Linked DNA regions of Homo sapiens: all the other regions are linked to region 1. The links are contacts of gene promoters, found by promoter capture Hi-C in blood cells and fetal thymus (Javierre and others, 2016). All regions are on one chromosome and are shown on one strand. Each heading gives the region's core, a stretch centred on a gene start or on the middle of the fragment in contact. The rest is flanking DNA. Distances are from core to core; before and after follow the strand shown.

Region 1 (3,966 bases), core at 652-3,151:
TGGGCAGATCACGAGGTCAGAAGTTTGAGACCAGCCTGGCCAATATGGTGAAACCCCATCTCTACTAAGAATTAGCCGGGCATGGTGGCACGCACCTGTAATCCCAGCTACTCAGGAGGGTGAGGCAGAAGAATCACTTGAACCCGGAGGACTGAGGTTGCAGTGAGTCGAGATCATGCCACTGCACTCCAGCCTGGACAAGAACAAGACTCCGTCTCAAAATAAATAAATAAATAAATAATAAATAACACACTTTGGAAACAAAAATAAGTCAAGTTAATAAACTGTTATCCAACATGGGATAAAATATATGAATCACAGGCCCCTGAGACTTCAGCGGCACAGATCATCTGCATTTAATCCTACACAAAACACACACTAAGAGGAAAGGCTCAAAATGGGTTGTAGGCCGGCACGGTGGCTCACGCCTGTAATCCCAGCACTTTGGGAGGCCGAGGGGGCAGATCACGAGGTCAGGAAATCGAGACCATCCTGGCTAACACGGTGAAACCCCATCTCTACTAAAAATACAAAAAATTAGCCAGGCGTGGTGGCACGCACCTGTAGTCCCAGCTACTCCGGAGGCTGAGGCAGGAGAATCGCTTGAACCCGGGAAGCGGAGGTTGCAGTGAGCCAAAATCGCACCACTGCACTCCAACCTGGGCGAGAGTGAGACTCTGTCTCAAAAACAAAAACAAAAAAAAAAAAAAAAAAACGGGTTGTATACCAACGAGGTGATGGAGGCTGGGGTGGTCGGGTAACAAGAGGCTTTAGGAGTAGCTGGGATCTAATTAATCTTCAAAACACCCGACCCATGTCCTAAAATGCCATCCTATGCTAGAATACACTATAACAAAACTAAAAATGATGAACCTGCCTAGGTCGTGCTGCAAAGGCCTTTTCTTTAGAAAGTTAAAAGGGGCCTGAGGCTCAAAGTAGAAATTAAGAGGCACAACCTGGTAGTAACCACGGACAAAGCAATCAAGGAAGCTCAGGCCCTCAGGAGGCAGAAAGCCTGAGATGGCTCGGAGAAGATAAAGTCGCCTCCCCAAAAGCGGTGTCAAGGTGACAGCGGGGTTTCCCAGGACCTCAGAGACTCAGGTCCTCAGTGAGCCCAGCCATCACTCAAGCTGCGGAATAAGCATTTTCGTCCTTTACCCAATCCCTCCCCAAAGTGCTGTCAGAAGAAACCTGAACCGTCCTGCGGCAGAGACGGGAGCAAAGCGGAGAGCAGACTGCCCCAAACGTGTTCCCGGAGGGAGGGAGCAGGGTGGGTTTTTGGAAAGAGGCCTGCAGGGGCGGGACAGTGGGTGTGAGGGCAGGGGCAACGCTGCAATCGAGGGGTCTGGGGTCGCAGAGAAGCGGGTGGCAGGATGGAGGAATAGGAGAGAGAGAGAAAAGAAACGAGGGTCATCTAGGAGAGGAGTATGGGGAGGAAGGAAGAGGAGAAAGAGGATGGAGCCTGGCAGCGGGGTTTGGGGACCGGCAAGGCTTAACCACCCAGGAAGTCCCGGAAGGAGAAGAGGGCAACGGGGTGGGAGAGAGACCAACGCAGAAAGAGAAACAAAGTTGCCAAGGGCGAGGGGCCAGCGCGAGGAACGCACCGGTGGCAAGGCACTCAGTGCCTAACTTTTTAGGACGGGAGGCTCCAGGGAGGCGGGATTTTGGAGCCCAGGGACCGGGGGAGTCCAGGCGGCCGGGAAGCGACGCGCAAGCGAGGGGCGTAGGGGTCCCTGCCAGGCGGTGGCCCGGGGTCCCGGGATCCTGGGGCGGGGCAGAGGAGCTTTTCAGCCGCGGTGGAGGTCCCCGGACAGCCACCCCGACCCCAGCCCCGCGCAGCGCCTCACTTACCCGAGCAGGGGCGGCGAGGCCAACGCGGCGGCGGCGGCAGAGGCGGCTGCGAAGGGCGGTGCGGCCCCGGCCCTCCGGACCCCGCCCCCGCCCCGGAGCCTGCGGTCGGCGCCTCCCATTGGCTGCTGCTCTACGGTACCGCGTCCGCCTCGGCCAATCAGCGCAGAGCAGCGTCGTTTGGAAACTTTTTTCCCAGGCCGGGCGCGGCGCGGCCAAGCGGCGAAGGCTCCTGGCCGGAGGGGGTTTGAGAGGCGCCGGCTGCCGGGCGCTGGGCTGCGGCGGGCTGGCGGGCATTGGAGATGCTGCAGAACGCTGCCTGGACACCCGGGAAACGGGTTTGGGCTTGCGGGCCGCGCATTTCAGGAAAATACGCCGGCCTCTCCTTCACTTCGATTGCATTTTCCCATTCTTGCACTTTCTCCAAATCAGAAGGAAAGACAAAGATTCAGGCCCACTGAAGCTAGCAGTGCCCCGTGCCCTTCCTACTCCTTTACACCAAAAGTAGAATCTTCAGCATCATTATCTTCTCCAGAAGCAGGAGAACGTAGTGCACCAGAATTTGGTCATAAACTTGGCTTTGAGTCCTAGTCCTGCCCCTTACTAACTGTGTGGTCTTGGGAAAGTTGTTTAGCCTCTATGACTCCGTTTCCCCATCTATAAAACGCCATTATGGGTCTGGCGCGGTGGTCACGCCTGTAATCCCAGCACTTTGGGAGGCCAAGGCGGGTGGATCACGAGGTCAGGAGTTCAAGACCAGCCTGGCACATGGTGAAACCCCGTCTCTACTAAAGATACAAAAAATTAGCCGGATGTGGTGGCACGCACCTGTAATCCCAGCTACTCAGGAGGCTGAGGCAGGAGAATCACGGGAAACCGGGAGGTGGCGGTTGCAGTGAGCCGAGATCACACCACTGCACTCTAGCCTAGGCGACAGGGCAAGACTCCGTCTTAAAGAACAGACAAACAAACAAACGACATTATGCAGAGGACTAAATGACTTAACAGCATTTGTAAAAACGTTTAGAACAGAAATTTGAACTTAGTAAGTACAATATATGTATTTGTTAAATGATCTTGATTTTGTTTATTTATTTATTTTGAGATGAAATCTCCCTCTGTCTCCCAGGCTGGAATGCAGTGGCGTGATCTCCACTCACTGCAACCTCTGCCTTCTGAGTTCAAGCAATTCTCCTGCTTCAGCCTCCCGAGTAGCTGGGATCACAGGCCCGCATCACCACACCCGGCTAATTTTTATATTTTTAGTAGAGACGGGGTTTCACCATGTTGGCCAGGCTGCTCTCGAATCCCTGTCCTCAGGTGATCCACCCACCTCGGCCTCCCAAAGTCCTGGGATTACAGGCGTGAGCCACCACACACTGCCTGAAGATCGTGATTTTTAAATGGCTGTGTGTGCCAGGCACAATTCTCACAGCAACCCTAATTGTTCACTAACAAATTAAAATTAAAAAATAATTTTTTTCTTTTCGAGACAGAGTTTCCCTCTTGTTGCCCAGGCTGGCGTGCAATGGTGCGATCTCGGCTCACTGCAACCTCTGCCTCCCAGATTCAAGCGATTTTCTTGTCTTAGTCTCCCTAGTAGCTGGGATTACAGGCGCCCACCATTACGCCCAGCTAATTTTTTGTATTTTTAGTAGAGACACGGTTTCACTGTGTTGGCCAGGCTGGTCTCGAACTCCTGACCTCAAGCAATACACCTCAGTCTCCCAAAGTGCTGGGATTACAGGCGTGAGCCATGTAACTCAGAAGGCAGAGGTTGCGGTGAGTGGAGATCACGCCACTGCATTCCAGCCTGGGAGACAGAGGGAGACTTCATCTCAAAATAAATAAATAAATAAAATCAAGCCACCATGCTTGGCTGGAATTTCTTTTTTTCTTTATTTTCTTCTAAAACATCCTGTCATAACATGTTCATTAACAAATACCGAACATTCTGGTTAGTGGGTACAAAAATAGAGTTAGAATGAATAAGATCTAGTATTTGGGAGCACAGCAGGGTGACTACAGTCCACAACAATGTATTGTACATTTTAAAATAACTAAAGGAGTATAATTGGAGTGCTTGTAACACAAAGAAAGGATAAATGCTTGAGGTCA
Region 2 (3,844 bases), core at 97-2,596, 310 kb before region 1:
ACAAAAAAAAATACAAAAATTAGCCGGGTGTGCTGGTGCATGCCTGTAGTCCCAGCTACTTGGGAGGGTGAGTTGGGAGGGTCACTTGGCCTGGGAGGTCGAGACTGCAGTGCAGTGGTACAATCAGCTAGGGCGACAGAACAAGACTCCATCCATCAATCAGTCAAACACCACACAAATTTCTTGTACTGGGAAGACTTAGACATCACACATATTCTCCAAACAAGTATTACCTAGGAGGCCAGTAAAAGGTACACTGAGGTTCCTCAGAGAGAAAACTCACAGAGAGGAAGATAAAAGCTCCATAAAAATCTCAATTACTACTTGAGGGTTACAGGATGCTAGCCTAGAGCCTCCCTCCCTAGACAGGTTTCTCAGAGAGAAAACTCACAGAGAGGAAGAGAAAACCTCCATAAAAATCTCAATTCCTGAGGGTTACAGGATGCTAGCCTAGGGGCACCCTCCCTGGTCATTAACACCCACTTTCCAGAACCTGGCAACCTCCCCAGGAGATGAATCCCACAGTTAAACTAAGGGGACACTTAAGTGGAATCTCAACTTTGTAATCGTCCACTTCTCCTGGGGCACTTTAAAATGAAGGAGTAGAGCTTCAAAGCTGATCTCTCAAGAAAGCCATTTTCGGCTGGGCATGGTGGCTCACGCCTGTAATCCCAGCACTTTGGGAGGCCGAGGCAGGAGGATCGCTTGAGCCCAGGAGTTTGAGACAAGCCTGGGCAACATGGTGAGACCCTGACTCTACAAAAAATACAAAAATTAGCCGGGTATGGTGGTGTGCACCTCTGGTCCCAGCTACCTGGGAGGCTAAGGTGGGAAGATAGCTTCAGCCCAGGAGGTCGAGGCTGCAGTGAGCTATGATTGTGCCACTGCACTCCAGCCTGGGTGACAGAGGGAGACCCTGTCTCAAAAGAAAAAAGAAAGAAAAAGAAAAAGAAAGCCATTTTTGTTTTCCCAGGGGAGAATGAACTGTCACAACTCCAACTGGGAAAATGGAAAAAGGTAAAAAGACACAGCCCTCAGTAAAAAAGAAACTGCCGCAAGTTTCTTCTCTAGCTAATTGGAGTTTAACCTCCTTAACGTCTCATTAAGCTTCTCCAAGGCAACCCCAGTAAGCCAATTACACTAGAATTTCGACAGCCCACAACCTCCTAGGGAAATGCAGGATGAGGAGGAAGGTCTTGCTCCATGTTTCTCCCCCATATTCCTCCACACCAGTGGCTGTGTGATTTCACACCCCAGGGAACATATGGAAACATCTAGAGGCATTTTCGGTTGTCACAACAAGAGGAGGTGCTACCAGCATCTACTAGGGGGTAGAGGCCAGGTTTGGGGCTAAGACTACGCTGCACAGAACAGCAACCAGGCCACAAAGAATGATGTGGCCTACATGTCAACGGGGCCGACACTGAGCAACTGTGCTCCATGTCCCCACCCGCAAAATACAGCTTCCTCAAAGGCCCCGTTCAACCATTCAGCCTCTAAGAGGTAAGTGCAGGTCCCCAGCACCACTCCACCCACAGGGATGCTGCCCTATCCCAGTTTTCTTGCTAAGCGGGGGGAAGCTTGCCTCAGGATGTCTGGCCATTAATTAATTTTGGCAAAATGTTTGGGCAAGTTTTCACGAGCTAGAGTTGTACTGACCACACTAAGAGCTGATCATCAAAGCTAGGCCTTACTTCGCCATGAAAATCTGAAGCCAACATACCAATCAGATGCTAACTTCAAGGTTGGCCTGCAAAGCAGGAGATGCCAACTCAGATACCAACAGGTGCCAAAGTGGGTTCCATCCATGCAAGAAGCAGACCAGGTGTGAGGAAGCACAATTTTAAAAAGGCAACAGGCCAGGCACGGTGGCTCATGCCTGTAATCCCAGCACTTTGGGAGGCTGAGGAACTCAAGTGATCCACTTGAGTTCAGGAATTCAAGACCAGCCTGGCCAATATGGAGAAACCCCATCTCTACTAAAAATACAAAAATAAGCCGAGTGTGGTGGTGCGGGCCTGTAATCCCAGCTACTCGGGAAGCTGAGGCAGCAGAATCACTGGAACCCGGGAGGCAGAGGTTGCAGTGAGCCGAGATTCCACTACTGCACTCCAGCCTGGGTGACAGAGCGAGACTTCGTCTCAAAAAAATAATATAAAATAAAACAAAGGCAACAAACATTTGGCCTTAAAATTAAAGCAACAACAGGGAGGGGTGGGGACTGCGGCAAACTGGAGCAACTCAGAAACGGACAGCCTCAGCGGACCGCTACCATGTATAAATGTGGGCCTGGGGCTAGCAGAACTTCTGATTTTTCAAGGGAAGCCAGAAATCCAGATGTTTCTGTGAAATCTGCCAATGAATAAACATTGTAGGGCGGGCCACAGTGGCTCATGCCTGTAATCCCAGCACTTTAGGAGGCCGAGGCGGGCGGATCACGAGGTCAAGAGATCGAGGCCATGCTGGCCAACATACTGGAAACCCCGTTTCTATCAAAAACACAAAAATTAGCTGGATGTGGTGGCGTGCCCCTGTAGTCCCAGCTACTGGGGAGGCTGAGGCAGAATTGCTTGAACCCAGGAGGCAGAGGTTGCAGTGAGCCAAGATCGTGCCACTGCACTCCAGCCTGGCAACAGAGCAAGACTCCGTCTCAAATAAATAAATAAATAAAATTGGAAATCACAGTCATTCCTATAATTAAAATCAAGCCAAACCAGCACAGTGGTGAGCTATATCTAACCCCTAGCTTGGAACTCATACCTCAAACACTCAAATTCTAATGTTGATTGAGCCCCCACTGTGTGTGAGACACTGAGTCCTGGGAAAAGAGGGGTGGACAAAACCCTGTTCTGACCTTTCCAAGATGAAATAGAAGCTGTTCTGCCAAGCACGGTGGCTCACACCTATAATCCCAGCACTTTGGGAGGCCAAGGCAGGCAGATCGCCTGAGTTCAGGAGTTCACCACCAACCTGAGCAACATGGCAAAACCCTATCTCTACAAAAAAAAAAAAAAAAAAAATTAGCTGGGCATGGTGGTGTGTGCCTGTAGTCCCAGCTACCTGGGGAGCTGAAGTGGGAGAATTGCTTGAGCTCAGGAGGTTGAGGCTGCAGTGAGCTGAGGTCGCGCCACTGCACTCCAGCCTGGGTGACAGAGCAAGACCCTGTCTCAAAAAAATAAAATAAAAAAACAAGCCATCTGATGAGAAAGCTGGAGGACTCAGTTTATCTGAGTGTTCATTCCAGACAGTTAAGTGATTATTTCATCCTTAAAATCCTTACAAAGAAGTTTCGACACCGCCCAAAAGCCACTGTAATACTTCATGTCATTCATTTATTCAACAAACAGCTGACCCTTGAACAACACACATTTAAACTGCACGGGTCCACTTATACTCAGATTATGCTTCTGCCTCTGCCATCCCTGAGATAGCAAGACCAACCCCTCCCCTTCCTCCTCCTCCTTAGCCTCCTCAACGTGAAGACAATGAAGATGAAGACCTTTATGATGATCCACTTCCACTTAATAAATAGTAAAAATCTCTCTTATGAATTAATCTTAACATTTTCTTTTCTCTACCTTGCTTCACTGTAAAAATACAGTATATAATATATATACAAGGTATGAGTTAGGCCAAGTGCAGTGGCTCACGCCTATAATCCCAGCACTTTAGGAGGCCGAGGCAGGTGAATAGCTTGAGGCCAGGAGTTTGAGACCAGCCTCGGCAACACAGCAAGCTCCCCATCTCTATCAAAAAACAACCAACAACAACAGAATTAGTGTTATCAACTGCTTATGTTCTCGGTAAGGCTTCCAGTCAACAGTAAGCTGTTAGTAGTTAAACT
Region 3 (4,194 bases), core at 76-2,575, 490 kb before region 1:
AGTTCAAGTTTTGAGACTGTTTTTCTCCCCGGAACAGTACTTAAAAAAAAAAAATCATTGATATTCAAAGATGGGTTCTTTTCGTGTCCTGGAAGAGCATCAGTAACTAAATATCAAGTTCTCCACAATGCTGCCCCCCCTGGGGGGCTAACCGGATGCCAAGGGAGAGAATTAACATCTAAAAACAAGGAAAAGACTCAAGGGGACATTTTTTTGGTACCCACTGGTAATACTTGGGAGGTATTTCGTGTTCTTTACTTTGAAAGCTTCATAACCATGAGCAGGTACCATGAGAGGGAAAGAAAAGAGGTGGTAAGAAAAAAGAACAAAATCAATCAACACTGTAAGCAACCAACACTGCTTTGGGCCAGGCCCCTAACACATTTTTCTGCTAGGACTGGCATAGTACCTTCCAGCTGGTTGCTCACTCTCAGTCTCTATTTCTAGTCAAGGTCAAATTCCCATGAGGCCATCTCCTTAATATTTACCCCACATCAATCATGGTGGGAACAGTAATAACAGCATTGATTGTTCTTACAATGTTGAACAAAAGAAAAAAGGGAAAGCCTGGAGTCGGGGTGGGTGGGGAGGGAAGCCCCAGGTGGAACGTCGGCCCTGAGACAATCCCCTGGCCCTACAGTTCCAGGTCCAGGTTAGCCGTTAGTCCAACCAGGTCCCTTCCAGGAGGACAGGCGTGGGAGTGCAGAGGCTGCCTCTGGCCCAAAACGAGAACTGGTAGAGCTGGCGCTGAGATGCTGGTTCCCAGCTTTTGAGTGCCTGGAAGACCAGATGTTGGTAAGAGGACCATCCAGGGCCCTGGGACACTGCCAAGGGGAGAAAATGATTTTCTCCAGGCCCCTCAACCACAAAACTGCAGCCCCAAGGAAATGAAGCGTTCCTGGTAGACCCAGACAAGGATGTTAGAGGTGATGGGAGCCAGAAGCATCTCAAAGACTTGCAGTCCACAGACTTCGGCTGGAGAGATCCGAGGCAGTAGGCTGAATTTGGTCACTAGGATCTTCTATACAACCAATTCCTCCAGAAGTCTGGCTGCCAAAACTCCTCCGTGGGAAGCACCAGGAAACCACTTGCATTCCTGGGGGCGTGAGGCTGTGTGTCTGTCTCAGGGCACCAGGGGCAGGGTGTGCGTGTTTTGGGTGGTTCGCATCTCTGTCTCTCCTGGGTCTTCACAGCCAGTTCCAGGCAGGGGACCGGATGGCGGTGGCTGCTGCTTTGAATATGTTTTGGTTGTCTGGGTTTGGTTTTTATGTTTTGGTTTCAGTGTGGGAGGCTTGGTTTACCAGGGGTACTGACTCCTCCCTGGGCGCTGGCATATAGGCCCTGCAGTTCTGACCAGATATGCCAGCTCTGGGGCTCACACCAAGCCGGCGTCTTTGGCCATGCTGTAGAAAAGACCTCTCTGCTGCAGGAGGTCCGATGGGGCGCCGTACTCCTGGATTTCTCCTTTGTCCAAGACGATCACCCTGAGGGAGAGGGGATACAGACATGAGGGGAAGGGGAGGGGTGAGCACCTCGTGCCCCTGGGACAACTGACCTGGGCAAGTCACTGCTTCGGGTCAGGCCCCTAACACTTTTTGCTAGGACTGGTGCAGTACCTTCCAGCTGGTTGCTCACCCTCAATCCCTATTTCTAGTCAATGTCAGATTCCCATGAGGCCAGCTCCTTAATATCTACCCCACATCAATCATGGTGTGAATGGTATTAACAGTGTTGACTGTTCACATTCACTGTTCCATTACATTCAGAGTAAAATAAAAAGATCTTACCACAGTCTACAATAACGATTGGCAACATTTTTCTGAAAAAGGCCAGATAGTAAATACTTGAGGCTCTGCAGGCCATATGCTTTCTGTTACAACTACGCATCTCTGCTGTATTTATAGTGTGAAAGCTGCCAGAGACAACAGGAAAATGAACAGATGTGGCTGCGTGCCAATAAAACTTTATTCATAAAAACACGCAGGGGGCCAGATCTGTGGCCTGTGGGCCATAGTTGGCTGACCCCTAATATTTTAGGTCCTGTAAGATTTGACACTGCCCACTTCTGTCCTCATTTCTATGTCCTATATTTCAAAAGCACCAACTCAGCATCTGCCACTTAGTAGGTGGTACTCAGTGAACTAGAAACATCATGTCAGCTGGGTGCAGAGACTCACGCCTATAATCCCAGCACTTTGGAAGGCTGAGGCAGGAGGATCACTTGAGGCCGCAGTGAGCTGTGATCCCACCACTGCACTCCAGCCTGGGCGACAGGGTGAGACCCTGTCTCAAAAATATATAAAATAAAATAGAAACTCATGTCACTTCCCTGCTTAAAACCTTCCAATGGCTTTATAGGGCTCTTAGAGTAAGTTCCAAGCTTCTCACCGTGGTTACATGGTGCTCTAAGATCCAGCCCCTGCCTACCTTTCTGGCCTAATCTCCTGCCCCTGTCCACTCAATTCCAACCTCTAGGTACATGGCCTCCTCATGCTAGCCTTCAAATTCATTAAGCGCATTCATTTTTACATTCGGCTGTACCGGCTGCCTAGAATGTTCTTCCTTTAGATCCAAGGTTGGCAAACTGTGGCCTGCAGGCCAAATCTGACCCCTTGCCTGTTTTTATGAATAAAGTTTTATTGGAACATAGCCATGCTCATTCATTCGTGCACTATCTATGACTGCTTTCACACGGCAACACTGGAGTCAAGTGGCTGAGAGGCCATGTGGCCCACAAAGCTGAAACTACCCCGGCCCTTAAGAACAAGGTTGCAGATCGCTGTCCCAGATCTTCTCAAGGCTGACTCCTTTTCATTGTTCAGGTCTCAGCTAAAATGTCACCTCTTCAGAGATGACCCACACAAAACTCAAAACCCCCCAGGACCCTGGCACTATGGCAGCATTCTGACTTTTGTGGTCCCCGGCACTGATGCCTACGGAGGTGGCTTTCTCCACACAAAATGCTAGAAATTCTATTTTATGACTGTGTTAGTATAAATAAAATCCAGGTTGGATTATATTCTTTTTTTTTTTTTTTTTTTTTTTGAGATGGAGTCTCACTCTGTTGCCCAGGCTGGACTGCAGTGGCACAATCTCAGCTCACTGCAACCTCCACCTCCCAGGTTCAAGCAATTCTCCTTCCTCAGCCTCCCAAGTACCTGGGATTATGGGCACGCACCACCACACTTGGCTACTTTTTGTATTTTTAATGGTGACAGGGTCTCACCGTGTTGGCCAAGCTGGTCTCAAACTATCGACCTCAGGTGATCTGCCTGCCTCGGCCTCCCAAAGTGCTGGGATTACAGCCGTGAGCCACCGCACCTGGCCTGCTTCTGATTTTTTAAAAAAAATAAAACCTTTTTGTGGGCCCCACGCACTGGGCCTGCAGTGTTCAATGGAAACAGTGGCCCTGCCCAGCACTCGCTATCCCGTCTCCTTGGCAAGCGTCCTTCCCAGCACCTGCTGCCCTCTGGAATCCTGTTGGTTTATTGCTCTGTATATTTTTTGTCTCCTCCATCTAATAAGCTACTTGGTCCTGGAGGCAGGGACTTTGTCTGACAGCAGCCTACAGAGTCCCCAGTGTCTGGGAACACCGCAGGTGCGCTGACGTGAATGAATGACTAGATGATATTAGAAATACCTGGTACCACTGGGCACAGCGGTTCATGCCTGTAATCCCAGCAATTTGGGAGGCGGAGGCGGGCAGATCGCCTGAGGTCAGGAGTTCGAGACCAGCCTGGCCAACATGGCAAAACCCTGTCACTACTAAAAATATAAAAGTTAGATGGGCGTGGTGGCACATTCCTGTAGTTCCAGCTATTCGGGAGTCTGAGGCAGGAGAAATGCTTGAACCCCAGAGGCAGAGGTTGCAGTGAGCCGAGATCACACCACTGCACTCCAGAGATGAAGCGAGACTCTGTCTCAAAAAAAAAAAAAAAAAAAGAAATAGCTGGTACCATCCAGGATGAAGAGAGGATCCACCCACTGGGGCTGTCACTAGGGATAAGGACAGTGTTGAATGAATTAATGAATTAATGAGTGAGCCAGTGAGTAAGGCAAACTCCCAAAGCCTAGAGGCCACTGTGCCAGTGGCATCACCTTGTGTAGTCCATGATGGTGTTGAGCCGGTGGGCGATGGTGAGGACGGTGCAGTCCTCGAACTGTGTCCGGATGGTGGACTGGATGAGGTCGTCC
Region 4 (3,985 bases), core at 1,220-3,719, 470 kb before region 1:
TGGGGTGTTGATCTTTTCTCCATTGCAGCCCTTATGAACCAAGTGACTGATCCTCACTACTCCGACAGACACAGCCAGATTGTGACAAACTCCCTAAAAATTCTGAAGGGAAGTCAAGGTCTGTAATCATTCAGGGTTAGCCCACCCAGACTTACGCTATGGGATTAGAGTGTGTAAGACGGGCTAATGGTTATGGGACACCTCTGGGGTGCTGTCACTTTTTCAGAAAAGTCTATAAGGATGCAAATGGGTGAGAGGGACACTTCTCTAAATTCAGCAAATAATTAGCAAACTTCTGCCTCTTTTGGATTGATGCTATTATCTGTGATCCACAAGATGTCAATCTCCCACCCCCATCTCCTTTTTTTGTTTTTCCAGAGACAGGGTCTCACTCTGTCACCCAGGCTGGAGTGCAGTGGTGTAATCATAGCTCAATGCAACTTTGAACTCCTGGGCTGAAACGATCCTCCAGCCTCAGCCTCTCGAGAAGCTAGGACTACAGGCACACACCACCATGATGGGCTACTTTTTTTTTTTTTTTTTTTTTTTAAGAGAGATGGGGGTCTTGCTATGTTGCCCAGGCTGGCCTGGAATCTAATGGATCCTCCTGCCTCAGCCTCCCAAAGTACTGGGATTACAGGCGTGAGCCATGACATCTGGCCCACAAGATGACAATCTCATATGGTTTAGCTTAGTATTAGTAAATTGCTTCTGACACACATCACCCAGGGGTGCATGATCACCCCCAGACGGGAACAGCGGTATGAAGATACTCAATAGCAGAGTCGGTCGCTGGCAGTCTTGCATCACTAGGATGACAGTTAACGGGAAGCACTTGCAGGGCTTTCTGACTCCAGAAGAGCTGTGTCCCTGCACTTAAATGCCGCGGGCACTGCATGTCTACAGTGCCGCTGTCTGCTCTTAATGATTCATCTGTCCTCCGCGCTCATCAAGCCTCTCCATCCTTTCTGCAAGGCCGGGGTTTGGCTTTATACCCAGCTCAAGGTGCGAGGAAAAGATCGAGGCAAAGAGACAAGGTGCTAAGGCGGCCTCCTCCACCCGCTCCTGCAGGCCCACCATGCCCACCTGTTGGCCACGATGCTGGGGTAATAGGCCTTCTGGTTCTCGTCCACCTTCAGGTCACTCTGGTGGATGAAGCGCTCCTGCTCCTCGAAGGCTCGAATGACGCTGACCCCCAGCAAGGTCTCGTTGAAATGGGAATAGACCGGGGAGCGGCTGACCGACTCGAGGCGCTTCAGCTGCCGGGAGGAAGCCACGTAGAACCTCTGGGGTAGAGAACAGACGCGGGGAGTTGATGAAGGTTCCCTCCTGCCATCCTCCCAGGGCAGGGCTGTGCTGGAGAACATCTAGACGTAACCGATACCTCCAGGAGGCAAAATGTTAGAGCCGGGCTGCCCTCACAGGGGTGCCCACTCACCTGGTGAACCACAGGAATAGCACCACCAATGACAAGGACAGTGACAATAATAGCTCACGCTTATACAAAGCCCACAGCCCCAGGCATCGTTCTAAGCAGTTTTACAAACATCAGTTCATTCAATCCTCACAAAAAACCTGAGGTGCTCATTCCTATATGTGATGGGTAGACTAAGGCACAAAGAAGCTAGTTAATCTCCTCCCCAAGGTCACATGGCTAGCAAGGGGCAGAACTGGGATTCAAACCCAGGCCATCTGGGCTGCAAAGTGCTAACCTCTACCCTGTACTGCCTCTCTGAAGCCTTTCACCTCTAGGGTTTTCTGGAACCAGCAGTGTGGTTTTCAGCATAGGCTTTGAGGTCAACGAGACCTCAGTTCAAATCCTGACTCAACTACTGACTGGCAATATAAACACGACTAACACTTTACTTCTCTAAGCCTCAGTTTCCTTATCTGTAAAATGGGAACAACAAGGCTTGCTCGGCCAGGTGGGGTGGCTCATGCTTGTAATACCCGCACTTCAGGAGGCAGAGGCGGGAGATCACTTGAGGCCAGGAGTCTGAGACCAGCCCAGGCACATGGCAAAATGCCATCTCTACAAAAATAAAATATTATTAAGAAAACAAACGAAACAAAACAAAGCTTGCTTCACGGGGTCATTGTGAGGGTGACATGTAAGAGTTACAGTCTTACATGTGATGTGTATTTGCGTGGACACATTATTTCATAAATCATATAGATATGCATGATGTCACTAAGCACAGTGCCTGGTAATACTAGGTTGAACCACAGGAAATAGCTGTTTCTGTAGATAAGAAATAAGTATTAGCAGTTTCATATAGTTTGACCTAACAGTAAGCATTCAGTTAGCTGGTGACTATTGTTATCATTAAGTGACAGAATTCCGCCTGTTGATCACATCCCCTCAGGAGTGACTGTGTCCATGCAATGGCCGGTTCCAGCACACTCAGCCCAGCTGAGATGCCCATGAGGATAGGGTCAATCTCGTCACCCCCCTCCGATGGCCTCCCAGCGCTGTTAGAGTTGCCAACCATGCTTCTTCCCTCAACTCATCTCATCCTGTAACTCTCCCCTTCCTTCCCTGCACACAGGCCGCCTGCCTCCACCCACCATGCCCATCCCGTCCAGGCCATTCCTCATCACCCAGCAGATGGGAGCACAGATGTCACTTCCTCGGGAAGCCCTTCCCATCCTCCATGAGCACCTTCTCCGGGCTTCAGTGTCCCAGCTCCCGGGCTACGATGATACGTTTCACAAGCAGCTCCACCCACCCTCGCGGGCAGATGCTTCATCTGCTCTGCCTCCCCCAACCTGGGCATTCAGCCAGTGCCAGGCACCAAGAGCCTCCCGATAAGTCTTGTTAGATTCAGAACAAAAGCCAACCACCTTCTGCAAGCTTTGTGGAGCTGTGGATCAGAGGCTGCACCAGCCATGTGAGGACACTGCGCTCTCCTAGCCTAGGTTTTTCTCATCTACGCAAAAGGAACTGGTGAGCCCGGGGTTCCTGATTCCACAAGGTGCCTACAATTGCTTATCGACAGGAGAGCTGGGAAAACTAACAAAGGGTTGCTAGGAACTCGGCCTCCCTGCATCCTGCCCTGGGCCAGGTGTACTGGGCTGCTTTGGGGCAGAGTCCAACAAAAAGCATCAATAGCAGCAGGTGGCTTTTACAAGGCCTCTGTGGTTGGCAGCTTCTTCCTGGGTGGCGGCACGGGCGTTAATTGCAACCCACAGATGGAGAGTCTTCTGGGGCCCCAGAAGCTATGTAAGTGAACCCAGGTACCGCACAACCCCACGCAGTCTCAGAATAGCTGTTCTGCCAATTCCTGGAATGTGGATCAGATATAATTTCTTCTCCAGCTGTTCCCACCGCCTCCCATGAAATCCAGACCCCTCTGCATGGCTGAAGGCCCAGGTGATCTGCCCCATCTTACCCTGGACCACATCTCCTTCCTCTCTTACCAGCTTGCTTTCTGAACAATCCAGATGCAAATCGCTCTCAAGTGTGTTACCTGTTCACTTTCCTCCACTTGCCACTGCCTCTGAACCTTACTTACTGGAAAAATCTAACCTGAGATGAATATTTGTTCAGGAATGATCTTATTTTATTTTTTAAGACAGTCTCGCTCTGTCACCCTGGCTGGAGTGCAGTGGCACAATCTTGGCTCATTGCAACCTCTGCCTCCCAGGTTCAAGCAATTCTCCTGCCTTAGCCTCCTAAGTAGCTGGAATTGCAGGCGCCCACCACCGTGCCTGGCTAATTTTTCTATTTTTAGTAGAGATGGGGTTTCACCATGTTGGCCAGGCTGGTCTCAAACTCCTGACCTCAGGTGATCCACCTGCCCTGCCGATCTGATGTTTTTTTCAGACAACTCGCCCTGTCACCAAGGCTGAAGTGCACTGGCACAATGTCAGCTCACTGCAACCTCCGCCTCCGAGGCTCAAGTGACCCTTCCATCTCAGCCTCCCAAGCAGGTGGGACTACAGGTTCACGCCACCACACCCAGCTAATTTTTGTATTTTCTGT

The links. Contacts are between HindIII fragments. The CHiCAGO score rates a contact against its expected background, and 5 or more counts as called.
Region 2: a fragment that was not itself captured here is called in contact with the fragment with the promoter of NDE1 in region 1 in 1 of 17 cell types (naive CD4 T cells); the score reaches 5.9 in naive CD4 T cells.
Region 3: a contact is called between a fragment that was not itself captured here and the fragment with the promoter of NDE1 in region 1, in 2 of 17 cell types (erythroblasts and fetal thymus). The highest score is 5.6, in erythroblasts.
Region 4: a contact is called between a fragment that was not itself captured here and the fragment with the promoter of NDE1 in region 1, in 7 of 17 cell types (erythroblasts, fetal thymus, total CD8 T cells and 4 more). The highest score is 9.7, in erythroblasts.

Annotation. Positions count from the first base shown.
Region 1 is chr16:15,648,180-15,652,145 of GRCh38, reverse strand. NDE1 (nudE neurodevelopment protein 1) reads right to left here and starts at 1,901. Exons shown (of 9, transcript NM_017668.3): 1 at 1,852-1,901. RefSeq lists enhancers at 1,199-1,698, 1,699-2,200. The HindIII fragment of the contact is 10,572 bases long and covers 1-3,966 here.
Region 2 is chr16:15,956,423-15,960,266 of GRCh38, reverse strand. All of the region lies in intron 1 of ABCC1 (ATP binding cassette subfamily C member 1 (ABCC1 blood group)), which reads right to left. Among named protein-coding and RNA genes, the nearest start is that of ABCC1, 8.7 kb to the right of the region's middle. RefSeq lists enhancers at 1,081-1,581, 1,582-2,082. The HindIII fragment of the contact is 473 bases long and covers 1,110-1,582 here.
Region 3 is chr16:16,138,463-16,142,656 of GRCh38, reverse strand. It overlaps ABCC1 (ATP binding cassette subfamily C member 1 (ABCC1 blood group)), which reads right to left. Exons shown (of 31, transcript NM_004996.4): 30 at 4,099-4,194; 31 at 1-1,484. The coding sequence ends at 1,376. Among named protein-coding and RNA genes, the nearest start is that of ABCC6, 83 kb to the left of the region's middle. The HindIII fragment of the contact is 2,114 bases long and covers 269-2,382 here.
Region 4 is chr16:16,119,276-16,123,260 of GRCh38, reverse strand. It overlaps ABCC1 (ATP binding cassette subfamily C member 1 (ABCC1 blood group)), which reads right to left. Exons shown (of 31, transcript NM_004996.4): 24 at 1,087-1,286. Among named protein-coding and RNA genes, the nearest start is that of ABCC6, 100 kb to the left of the region's middle. The HindIII fragment of the contact is 775 bases long and covers 2,082-2,856 here.